4 separate regions of the Homo sapiens genome follow, and regions 1, 2 and 3 are each linked to region 4. Evidence: promoter capture Hi-C in human tissues and cell types (Jung and others, 2019). All regions are on one chromosome and are shown on one strand. Each heading gives the region's core, a stretch centred on a gene start or on the middle of the fragment in contact. The rest is flanking DNA. Distances are from core to core; before and after follow the strand shown. Region 1 overlaps SLCO1B1 (solute carrier organic anion transporter family member 1B1). Region 2 overlaps SLCO1B1 (solute carrier organic anion transporter family member 1B1). Region 3 overlaps SLCO1B3-SLCO1B7 (SLCO1B3-SLCO1B7 readthrough). Region 4 holds the start of SLCO1C1 (solute carrier organic anion transporter family member 1C1).

Region 1 (3,199 bases), core at 589-3,088, 470 kb after region 4:
CGTGTGTACCATCTATGACTTAGTATTGATTGATTGTCATCTTTCATGTTCTTCATAAGTGGGTAATTTTGAACACTGTTATATTATTTCAAAGGGTGTTATTTGTTTGTTCAGATGTTTTACAAAGTAATTAACTTTGTTGGCTTGAAATTGCAAACTCTGTCTTCTTGGTGTCTTAGTCAATTCAGGCTGCTATGACAAAAATACCACAGACTGGGTAGCTTAAACAACAAACATTTATTTCTCACAGTTCAGTAGGCTGGGAGACCAAGATCAGGGTGCCAGTATGGTTAGCTTCTGGTGACAGTTCTCTTCTTGCTTTCCTGACATGGCTAAAAGAGAAAGAGAATGGAAGTGAGTTCTCTTCTTAAAAGGGTACAAATCTCATTCATGAGGGTTCCACAGCCATTATCTAATCACCCCCCAAAAGCTTCACCTCCTGATACCATCACATTGGGTTAGGATTTGACATGCGCATTTGAGAGGGACACAAACATTCATTCTATGACAGATGGTAATCGAAGCAAAGACAATGAATGGGTTTGCCCAGCAAGAGTATGTAGAGTAAAAAGAGAAGACGGTATGAAACAAATCACTGAAAAAAAAAAAATGTAACAGCCAGAATAACATGATCTAAGGATACTTGGGAGGAATTATGCAAAAAATAGGATTTGAGTCATGCAGGCAAACTCTTTAAATTTTTACTGGAAAAGACATGAGAGACAGAGTTATGGAAAAGAAAGCATTTGGTGGAGGCAGATCCATTTTTTCTAATAAAATAAATTAATATGGATGAATTGTACAATCATTCCTTAGTAAATTTCAAAACTGCATCCAGGCAAATCTCTTATGCAACAGGCCTGCCTTAGTTGTGTCTACTGGGTACTTGTTTATTTTTAGGCATGTCAAATTCGACTTGTGAAAAGATGATTATATTGTCTTTAATGCTGTCTTCTTTTTCCCACCAAATGACAGTTATTCAAACCAGAAACTATAAAACAAACATACAGTTATCCGAACTAGAAAACAAAATCAGAATTTACATTTTCTATTTTCCCCACCTCCTGTTGGTTCTCCTCTTAAACTTCTCCTTGTGTGTCTGTAAGCTTGTTATACACTTTTCATCTCTACTCTTTTTTATTTTCTGAAGTCAGCTTTCTAACAGATCTCTTTTTCCTAAGTTCTTCTTCTTCATGGCTGCCAGAATTAACCATCTAAAATTTAATTTTGTTATGTAACATTTTAAAGTGCATATTGACTCCTCAATGTTGAACATATTTCTATCCTTACACTTCACCTACACAAATAATATTTCTGTTTTTCAAATAATCCGTGTTATTTCACTTCTTAGGGGCTTTTCATGTGCTTCCTATTTTGTTTTAAGTATTTTGTGTCTTCAATATCTAAGCTTCTATAATCAACTGAAGACTTAGCCCCAATGTCAACACATCTTTAAGAACTTTAACCTGTAAGGTCAGAATAGTCCCTTTTTCCTATCTGCACATAACATTACAAACTTATGGCAATTATAAAACTCAATACATATTATACTGTCATTATTGGTTTATTGCTGCTGAAGATTATAATTTTCAGTGCATTGATTATGTCTTATTTGTTTTTACTGCCCTTGTTCCTGTTCCTCTGTACCTGCCTCAACTACATAGCTTAGCAGACTAACTGCTATATTACAGTTGCTCAATGAATGTTTCTTGAGTAAATCAGTTGAGTTCCAAAGCTAATCCAAGTTGTGCGTTTGACAAATTAGAAGCTTGGAACTGTCTTCTGACTTTAAGTTTAGAACTATTGCCATAATAAATTAATGACCGATCTGCCATGATTGCAGGCAAGTAGAGACTTTATTTCTTATCTCAATGTCAGTTGTCTCTTTCTGCCAATGCACATTTTATTTGATGATTGTGCACATTTATATCTCTGGTTTTTATTTAAATAAATTTAGAACATATAGCTGGAGACGGTAGCTCAAACTGAGGATGAAAATAGACATTTATCAAGGTTATTATGTAGCTAGCACTGCATGTACACAGAGGTATTTAGGGAGCCACACATATGTCCAAGGCAAGACATATGCTCATAAAACGTCTGAGAAGATTGTATCCTTTTACCTAATGCTAATCCCCAAGCTTAGAACAAGGCAAGTGAAAGGTCAAAGGGATAAAAAAATACAATAAACAAAATAAAAATTTACAAGAAGTTGTTATGGACTAAATATTTGTTCCCCTCTCCCCAAAATTGTGTATTGAATTTCAAAATCCAATGTGATAGTATTTGGGAGTCTTTGGGAGCTAAAGAGATCATGAGAAATTTGCTCTTATAATGTGAGTAGTGCCTTACAAGAAAATGCTGGAGAGCTCACTAGATTTTTTTCCTCCATGTGAGAATACAAAGAGAAGTTAGCTGTTTGCAGCCTAGGAGAGGGCCCTCACCAGAAATTGACCATGCTGGCACCCTTATCTCAGACTTCTCACCCTTCAGAACTGTGAGAAATAAATGTTTGTTGTTTAAGCCATCCGTTCCATCATAATTTGTGATAGCAGTCTGAACTGACTTAGACAAAAGTTCAACAGCAAATTTGAGCAGTTAGAACACAGAATCCGCAAACTTGAAGATAAGACAATTGAAATGATTAGTCTGAGAAGCAGAAAGAAAAAAAAAACGAAGAAAAATTAACAAAACATACGGAACTGTGGGACACTATCAGGTGAACCAGCATAACAATTACAGTAGTTCTAGAAAGAGAAGAGACAGAGAAAAGGGAAGAAATAATATTTGAAAAAAAAGTGGCCGAGAACGTCCCAAATTTGATAAAATATATGATCTCAATATCGTAGAAGCATAAGAAAATCCAAATAAACTCAGAGATCCACTTTGAGGCACATTATGATCAAACTGTCAAAGGCCAAAAAAATAAAAATAAATTCAGAATCTTGACAGCAACAAGAGTAGGAAATAATCATGGGCAAGAGTTCCTTAATAAGATTAACAACTGATTTCTCATCAGAGACCAGAAGACATTGAAATGATATATCCAATAAAGAACTGATATTCAAAAGTATGCAAAGAACATCTAAAACTCAATAATTAGAAAAATAACCCAATGATAAAATGAGGATGATATCTGAACAGATGCCTCACTGAAGAAGATATAGAGACAACAAATGAGCATGTGGAAAAATGCTCC
Region 2 (2,973 bases), core at 106-2,605, 490 kb after region 4:
TGTGCCTGACTTCAAAAATAGTTTGTCAGTATACATTGCATATGAAACTGAGAGCAAGAATCTAGCTATAAATAAAAATATTGTGCAGAGTCTTATCCCAGAAATTAAACCAACTGACCATACTCAACTTATACCACAGTTAAAGGAACACCATTCCTTCAAGATGAAAAAGAATCAACAAGAAATCTGGCAATTCAAAAAGTAAGAATGTACCTTAACCTTCAAATGGGTGCATTTGAGCTCTCCAGCGATGGTTCTTAACCACATTGGAATGACTAAAATGACAGACAGGCAATTCGGAATCTGGATGGCAAGAAAGCTCATTGAGATTCAGGAAAGTGCTGAAACACAATTTAAGGAATTCAATAATTCCAGTAGAATGATCCAAAAGCTGAAAGACATAATAGCCATTAAAAAAACACTACTTCTGGAATTAAAAAAAATACTACATGGATTTGATAATACATCCAGACCTTTAGCAACAGAACATACCAAAGAGAGAAAAGAATCTCAGAGCTTAAAAACCAGTTTTTATAATCCACTCCATCAGACAAAAAGAAAGAAAGAAAAAAAAACATAAAAATGAAGAAAACTTCTAGGAATTTGGTTTCCTTCTGTAAAGAAACCAAGCCTATGATTCATTGGAATTCCTGAGAGAGAAAAAGAGAGAGTAAACAACTTGTAAAACGTATTTGCAGATATAGTCCATGAAAATATCCTCAAACTTGCTAGAGAGATTGATATGCAAATTCCTAAATTACAGAGAACCCCTTTGAGATGCTATAAAGATGACAATCCCCAAGGCATCTACTCATTAGATTCCCCAAAGTCCACATGAAAGAAATAAATATTTTAAGATTTTTTTGGGGGGCAGCTAGAGAGATGGATCAAGTCACTGTCAAGGGGAACCCCATCAATCTTGCAGAACACCTTTGAGCAAAAACCATACAAGCCAGAAGAGATTGGGGACCTATTTTCAGCACCCTTAAAGAAAAGAAATTTCAACCAAAAATTTAATATCCCACCAAATTAATTTTGTAAGTGAAAGAGAACTAAACTCCTTCTCATACAAGCAAACATTGAGGAAATTTCTTATCACTAAACCAGCCTTATAACAGGTCTCTAGAAGAGTGCTAAACATGGAAACAAAAGATTAATACTTGCCACAACAAATACTCACTTAAATAGGTAGCCCAGACACATAAAGCAACTATACAACCAAGTCTATGAAACAACCAGCTAACAACATGATGCCATGATCAAAATCTCACGTATCAATAATAACCCTGAATGTAAACAGGCTAAATGCCCCAAGTAAAAGACACTGAGTGACAAGCTTCATAAGTAGACAAAACTTAGCCTTCTGTTGTCTTTAAAAGACACATCTTACATGTACAATACCCACAGGATCAAAGTAAAGGAACGGAAAGAGATCTATCCATGCAAACAGAAAACAAAACAGGGCAGTAATCACTATTCTTATATCAGATAAAACAGACATTAAACCAAAAACCATCAAGAAGGACAAAGAAGGGTATTACATAAGGATAAAGTGTTCCATTAAACGAGAAGACTTAACTATTCTAAATATATATGCAGTCAAAAGTGGAGGACCCAGATTTACAAAAAAGATTCTTAGAGACCTAAGGAAACTAAAAACAGACAGCCACACCATGATAGTGGAAGACTTCAACAACTCACTGACAGTGTTAGATATCGAAGCAGAAAATTAAAATGTAAATTTTGGACTTAAACTCAACTCTCAACCAACTGGATCCAAAAACATCCTACAGAATACTCCACCCAGCACTATCAGAATATGCTTTCTTCTCATCTGCATATAGATTGTATTCTAAAATCAATCATATGCTCAGTCATAAAGTCTCAATACATTCAAAAAATTAAAAGATTTTGAGTACATTCTTGAACAAAAGTGCAATAAAAATAGAAATCAATACCAAAAAGATTTCTTAAAACCACCCAAAAGTATGGTAATTCAACAACTTTTCCTGAATAATTCTTGGTTTAAGAATGAAAGTAAAACCGTTTTTGACATTAAATAAAATAGAGACACACCTCACTAAAATCTTTGGGATCTATCTAAAGCAGTGTTAAGAGGAAGTTTACAATGCTAAAGGCCTTCATCAAGAAGGCAGAGAGATTTCAAATTAACAATTTAACATTGCACTTACACTAACTAGAAAAAAAAAGGACAACCCCAAAGCAAACTGAAAATAAATAACGAAAATCAGAATGAAATTGTGATGCAAAATGTATACAAAAGATAAATAAAACCAAGAGTTTGTTATTCAAAAGAATACAAAAAGATTAATAGACTGTTAACTAGATTAACAAGGAAAAAAAGGAGACCCAATTAAGCACAATCGGAAATGACAAAGATCACATTACAACTCCCATAGAAATGCATTACAAATGCCCCTCTGCACACAAATTAGAAAATCTAGAGGAAGTAGAGTCATTCTTGGAAACAACCTCCAAAGATTAAACCAGAAAAAAAGTGAAAACCTGAACAGACCGATAACAAGTTATCAAATTGAATTAGTAATAAAAAACCTACTGACCAAAAAAAAAGCCCTGGACCAGATGGATTCTCAGCCAAATTCTACTAATTCTAATTTTATTCTAACATAAAAGTTCGCTTTTTTAAAGTTAAACTTCAAATTTAAGCACAGAAACACATATGTACCTCATATTATCTCATCTACAGTCAAGAGAAGTGAAAACAAATGTGAAGATGTACTATTAAAGCATAACTTTATACAATTGACTGTAATATATACGTTACTGCTGTAATAATTTCATAGCACCTCCTGTAATTGTAGTAATAAGGTTGTGTTGAAAGCACCTGCTTAAAACACCATGTGACACTAATTATCTCCACATGAACAGTTCCTCTCTCCAATAAATTGCGGATTGCAGCAAAATCTGATTGTGATTCTTGTGCGTTTTTAT
Region 3 (3,110 bases), core at 525-3,024, 300 kb after region 4:
TGTTTCTGTAGTTCCTTGAGGTGTGACATTAGGTTGTCTTTTTGTGATTTTTTTTATTTTTATTTTTATTCTCATTTATTTATTGAGTCAGAGACTCGCTCCGTTGCTCAGACTGGAGTGCAGTGGCACCATCTTGGCTCACTGCAATGTACGCCTCTTTGATTCAAGCAATTATCCTGCCTCAGCCTCCTGATTACCTGGGATTACAGGCACCTGCCACCTCACTGGACTAACTTTTGTATTTTGAGTAGATACAGGGTTTTACCACATTGGCCAGGCTTGTCTCAAACTCCCTGTCTCAAGGGATCCATCTGCCTCAATCTCCCGTAGTGCTGGGATTAACAGGGGAGAGTCACTGCACCCAGCCAATTTGTGATCTTTCAGACTTTTAATGTAGGAATGTAGTATTATAAGCTTTTCTGTTAGAGTTCCTTTTGCTGTATCCATGGGGTTTTGATAACTTGTATTATCTGACATATCATCGTTTATGTAATAACTGACGTATTATCGTTTATTTCAAAGAAGTTTAATTTCCATCTTGATTTCATTGTTAACCCAAAAATTATTCCAGAGCATATTGTCTAATTTTCATGTATTTGTATAATTTGGGGGATTCCTTATGGAGTTCATTTCTAGTTTTATTCCACTGTGGTCTGAGAAAATATTTGATATGATTTTGAGTTTCCAAATATTTATTGAGGCTTGTTTTCTGTCTTACTGTATTATCTATGTTGGAAAATGTTCCAAGTGCTGATGACAAGAATGTTATTCCGCAGTTCTTGGACAAAATGTTTTGTAAGATTCATGTGTATCTGTTAGGTTCATTTGTTCTAGAATGTAGTTTAAGTCCATTTTTTATTGCTTTTCTGGCTAGATAATCTGTCTAGTGCTGTCAGTGATGTTTTCAAGCCATCCACTATTATTGTGTTGCTGTCTATCTCATTTCTTAGGTCCAGTAGTAATTGTTTTATGAATCTAGGTGCTCCATTGTTTGGTGCATATAAATTTAATATCTTCTTGTTGGATTGATCCTTCTTTCATTATATAATAATCTTCTATGTCTTTCTTTTTTACTGCTGTTGCTTTAAAGTCTGATTTATTTGATATAAGAATAGCTACTTCTGCTGACTTTTGATTTCCATTTCCATGAAATATCTTTTTTCACCCCTTTACCTTGAGTTTTATGAATCCTTATGTATTATGTGAGTCATGTGAAGAAAGTTGATATTTGGTTTGTGATTCTTTATACATTCTGTTGATCAGTATCTCTTAAGTGAAGCATTTTGGACACTTACATTCAACATTAAAATTTAGATGTAAGGTATTTTCCCGCTCATCATTTGAATTGTTACTTGGATACTTTTCTTAAATTGTGTAATTCTTTTAGAGGCCCTTTGAGTTTTATGCTTTCAAATTCTGTTTTGGTGCATATCAAGCTTTTGTTTCAAGATTTAAAACCCTTTTCAGAATTTTTTGTAAGGCTGGTCTGGTAGCAACAAATTCCCTCATCATTTGTTTGTCTAAAAATGACTTTATTTCTCCTTCATTTATATAACTTAGTTTTACCAGATACAAAATTTCTGCCTGACAGTTATTCTGTGTAAGGAGCCTGAAGATAGGACTCTCATCCATTCTGGCTAGTAAGGTTTGTGCTGAGAAGTCTGCTGTTAGTCTTATAGGTTTTCCTTTATAGGTTACCTAATGCTTTTGACTTAGAGCTCTCAGAAGTCTTTTTTCATACAGACTTTATGTAGCCTGATGACTACATACCTTGGTGATGACCTTTTTGCAGTGAATCTCCGGGAATTGTTTGAGCTTCTCATATTTGAATATCTAAATTTATTGCGAGGCCAGGGAAGTTTTCCTCAATTATTCCCTGAAATATGCTTCCAAGACTTTTTTGTTTTCTCCCTCAGGAACACCAATTATTCTTAGGTTTGGCTCTTTTCCATAATCCCATAGATCTTGAAAACTTCATTTATTTTTATTCTTTTCCTTTATTTTTGTCTGTTTGGGTAAATTTAAAAGCCTAGTCTTTGAGCTTTGATTTTTTTTTTCTTCTACGTGTTCTAGTCTATTGTGGAAACTTTTCACTGCATTTTGTAATTTCTAAATTTGTCTTTCATTTCCAAAAGTTCTGATTGGTTTATCTTTAAGATATCTGTCACTTTATAAAATGTTTCCTTCATATCCTGAATTTTTTTTTTCATTTCTTAATGTAGGTTTTCACCTTTTTCAAGTATCTCTTTGAGTAGCTTTATAACCAACCTATTAAATTCTTTATTTTGTATTCCAAAGATTTCATCTCGGTTTGGATCAATTGCTGGAGTGCTAGTATAATCTTTTGGGGTGTTACAGAACCCTATTTTGTCATATTAACAAAATCGTCTTTCGGTTTGTTTTTCTCTCATTTGGGTAGAGTATTTCTTCTAATTATTCTTTTTGTTTTTTTTCCGGAGTTTTGCTCTGTCACCAGGCTAAAGTGCAGTGGCACGATGTCGGTTCACTGCAACCTCCGCCTCCTGGGTTCAAGCGATTCTCCTACCTCAGTCTCCCAAGTAGCTGGGATTATAGGTGCTCGCCACCACGCCCAGCTAATTTTTCTATTTTCAGCGGAGGCGGGGTTTCACCATGTTGGCCGGGATGGTTTCGATCTCCTGACCTCATGATCCACCCGCCTTGGCCTCCCAAAGTGCTGGGACTACAGGTGTGAGCCACTGCACCCGGCCTAATTATTCTTAAATTCATTTTTAATTTGACTTTTTTTTTTAAATTTCTTTCCCCCCTCCAAGTATGTGACTTTAATGTTTGTAGTTTACTGTGGCTTAATTTGGCTCTTTGTACTTTAATGGGTAAAAACTCTGTATGAATTCCTTGGTTATAGAGAGTCTTTGTATGATGGCTTTCTCTGATGCTAGTTGTAGTAGCAATGTGCCCAGTGTGTAAGCAAGTTCACAATCTCCTATAGAGTCGGAATGACAGAGGTCTCTTGAAGCTTATCTCATTCCACTCTGGTGTGTACTTTTTTGTTTATTTTTTCCTATGTATTTTAGTTACTGGGTTAAATAGTTCAGGCTTTAGTCCAGTGTGGGAGGTGTCCATGTTTAAAA
Region 4 (3,258 bases), core at 392-2,891:
AAGATGGCCATGTGGTAACAGAAGCAGCTGTTGGAGTGATACACCTATAAAACAAGGAGTTCAGGCTGTCAGCAAACACCAGGAGGTGGAAGAGGTAAGGAGGATTCTTCCCTACAGGTCTCAGAGGGAGCATGGCTCTGCTGACACCTTGATTTTTGACTTCTGGCCTCCAAAAGTGTGAGACAATAAAGTTCTGTTTTAGGTCACTCAGCTTGTAGTACTTTGTTAGTGCAGTCTTAGGAAATGCATTCATTTATATGTTGTCTGTGGTTAATTTACCACCAGAATGGCAGAGGTGAGTGGTTGTGATAGAGATTGCATGGTCCTACAAAACCTAAAATATTTCTTATTTGTCCCTTTATAGAAGTTTGTTAACTCCCTCATCTAGAGTTTGGAAATGGGAATGAAAGGCTGAAGTAGGCTACAATCCAATGCAAGGTTGCACATAAGAAGCTCTGAATAAGTGTAAACATTATGTGCATTCAAAACAGTAACATTAACTGTGGACTCTGGAAATAAGAAAAGGAATCGTGTTGGAGAGTGAGACTGAGCCAGTTGGGAATAGACAAAATTACATTCTCAAGGGAGAATTTCATTTCTTGGTGAGGAAAATTATGCCCTTTGGGCTGGTAAATACTGTCTCCTCTTGAATAAAACAGTGGTCTGGCCACCTGTTAGACACTGAGAAGTCTAGACTAACACTCAATGTATTCGGATGTTTGCTCACTATTTCCGATGGAAAAGTCTGGTTTGATTGTTAAAGTAAAATATTTGGCCTTTCAGAGTGTGAAAACACCATTGCTTCATTGCAAGGTTTAATATAAACCCATTTTTCTTGCATTTTCTTTTCTTTCTTTTGTAGTAAAATGTGCTTGAATAATATTAACTATTCTGACCATTATGTGAACTAAATATATATATATATAAAATGATGATACCTTCCGCTCATTTGCAATGTGCTTTTGAATACATTATATAATTTAATCCTTAAAACAGCCCTATAAATCTGTTTTTTTTTTTTTTAAACAAAAAAATTCTGCTTTACAAAGGAAGAAGTTGAGACTCAGTAAAATTAAGTGACCATCCCAGAGTCTCAGCCACTTAAGAGTAGGGTGAATCTTGGATAATTCTGGTAGCAAATTTATTTATTGGTAGAAAATAAATGCAAACTACTACTGCTTAAGATCCTCTAAAGTTTTTCTCTTGGAAAAAGAATGTATTAGAATTGTGGACTTTCTCAGTGCAAGGATTTATTTATCCTTGGAATTAGGCAGAATAAACAATTGAATGCCAAAAATTCAACGTGTTTCTTTTCTGTTTTCAAAACTCATAGAAATTGTAAATATGAGCAACTGATCATGTCTCTGAGAATTAACTCTTTTTGTACAGAGCGCTGCAGAGCTTTGATTGTGACCTGATACTTGGTCCTTAAAGATTCTAGAACACCAATGGAAAAGAAAACCATGTAGCAAATTAGCCCAAGAACCGTTAAAGACAAAACAAAACAAACCAAAACCAAAACACACAAACAAAGAAAACACAAGGATCCCAGTGATGTCCCTAAGGAATAGTTGGCTTAAAAACTTTCTGGAAGGAGGAGGGGTCTCTGTTATAAACTTCCGCCCTCCTCTGGCTTCTGTTCCTTACCCTCTGCCCCCTGCGGAGTTGTGTTTTCTGGGAATCAGCAAGTAAGATCACAAGTGGTCTTTTCTTTTATTCACTCTCTCCCATAAAGAAAGCTTTATCACGTGTGGCCTTAAACTTGCAGCAAATTGCAAAGAAATGGCTCAAAAGCTTCAGCTCTTTCTGTGCCCTGGGAGCTGAGATGCACGTCAGTGGCCTTGCCAGCGTGGCCAATTCTCTGCTGACTGCCAGAAAAAAGAGGCCAGGAAGAAAGAGGAAAGAGAAGAGATCGCTCAGGGGTGAGACCATGCCCTTCATCTTTTCTTTTCCCTAATCTCCTCTGCTTGTGTCCACCCACACTCTCCCCACCTGGCAAAATTGTTCAAAATTGCTGTGGAGTTTACCTCAGTTTCCTCTTTCAGTCTGTGGTGTGTGGTCCATCCTCTTGCTGAGCACATTGAAAGGAACTGGCTATCTTTGATCTCTTCCTCCAGGTAAGACTTGGTTCTCTCATTTTATATTTTGTGACTAATACATCAGATTCTTATGGGAGATTAACCCTTAATTTCTGTGCGATTTATGTTTTATCCATAAAAATATCAGTGAAAGGTGATGATCCCCTCATTAGTTTGATGGAAATAAGAGAGAAGATTGGTTAAAGAAATCAGATAAACTCAAATTTGAGTTCAAATTTTGAGTCTCATGCTTATAAATTGTTTAGCTTTTGACAAGTCACTTAATTGCTTTGGGCCATCTAATTTAAAAAATGGAATTCTAATATTACGTTTGTTGGGTTGTTTTAAGGATTAGAAAAAGTACGTACATTACTCAACACAAAAATAGTACTTATTAAATCTGAATCTGACACAGATAATTTGTATTAGGTGAGAAATTAGTTTCTAAACAACACACACTCCTCTGCAGCAAGTGCCGTGAGGCTATTTTTTAGTTTGTCTGAAGGGAGGCATCCTGGTGTCCAGAAGTCAAGCCAGGACAGAGGTTTTCCTCACAGGAGATGGCCAAGAGAAGAGAGGGAGGAGCGTGGTTGCCTTTAGGACTTTCTCTGTGGCAGTCCTTGGGGACTGATTGCTGGACAGAGTCCGAGTCAGTTGCAGAGCAGAGGGGTTGAGTACATCTGCGGGATCTAACTACAACCTTCCTAAGCCACTTGCTCTCTCCATTTAAAATCTGGAGGGCTGATTTTGAAACTAATGAGGACTGATTATTCAATGTTTTTGAACCAAAGGAAGAGAAACTGCTTGGCTTGTTTTTCTTTGGCCTCCAGAATAAGTTATGCTCCAAACCCAGGGTATTGGATGAAAACTGTCGTATGTCTTTTCCTGGAAGAATCTATTCAAGTGGCCAGAGATCAATTAAGGATTTGCCAAATGCAAATAATTCTGAATAACTGTGTACTCTTGCTCTACTTCTGCAGTTGCAAATGAAGAGAGAGAGCCTGCAGGCCCCAAGGATCTTTCCGTTCATGTCATTGAGCTTCCTTCCCTCTCTTTTTACAGGGGATGAACTGTAGCCTCCTTGGAACATACTACACTTGCAATAATTTGCGCATTAACCATCAAGACACTTCAGTAAAGCTATGCAGTGCCAATAGTTTAAGCTGGATCCTATTTTGCC

Evidence for each region. Contacts are between HindIII fragments. The study calls those that stand out against the background at their distance.
Region 1: a fragment that was not itself captured here is called in contact with the fragment with the promoter of SLCO1C1 in region 4 in 2 of the 25 tissues and cell types used here (aorta and mesenchymal stem cells).
Region 2: a fragment that was not itself captured here is called in contact with the fragment with the promoter of SLCO1C1 in region 4 in 2 of the 25 tissues and cell types used here (H1 embryonic stem cells and mesenchymal stem cells).
Region 3: a fragment that was not itself captured here is called in contact with the fragment with the promoter of SLCO1C1 in region 4 in 1 of the 25 tissues and cell types used here (spleen).

What each region holds. Positions count from the first base shown.
Region 1 is chr12:21,163,345-21,166,543 of GRCh38, forward strand. The region is part of intron 2 of SLCO1B1 (solute carrier organic anion transporter family member 1B1); the gene reads left to right. Among named protein-coding and RNA genes, the nearest start is that of SLCO1B1, 34 kb to the left of the region's middle. The HindIII fragment of the contact is 4,086 bases long and covers 1-3,199 here.
Region 2 is chr12:21,183,485-21,186,457 of GRCh38, forward strand. All of the region lies in intron 7 of SLCO1B1 (solute carrier organic anion transporter family member 1B1), which reads left to right. Among named protein-coding and RNA genes, the nearest start is that of SLCO1B1, 54 kb to the left of the region's middle. The HindIII fragment of the contact is 6,857 bases long and covers 1-2,973 here.
Region 3 is chr12:20,998,213-21,001,322 of GRCh38, forward strand. All of the region lies in intron 13 of SLCO1B3-SLCO1B7 (SLCO1B3-SLCO1B7 readthrough), which reads left to right. The region is part of intron 1 of LOC124902894 (putative solute carrier organic anion transporter family member 1B7); the gene reads left to right. Among named protein-coding and RNA genes, the nearest start is that of SLCO1B1, 130 kb to the right of the region's middle. The HindIII fragment of the contact is 4,104 bases long and covers 1-3,110 here.
Region 4 is chr12:20,693,691-20,696,948 of GRCh38, forward strand. SLCO1C1 (solute carrier organic anion transporter family member 1C1) reads left to right here and starts at 1,642. Exons shown (of 15, transcript NM_017435.5): 1 at 1,642-2,117. The HindIII fragment of the contact is 14,433 bases long and covers 1-3,258 here.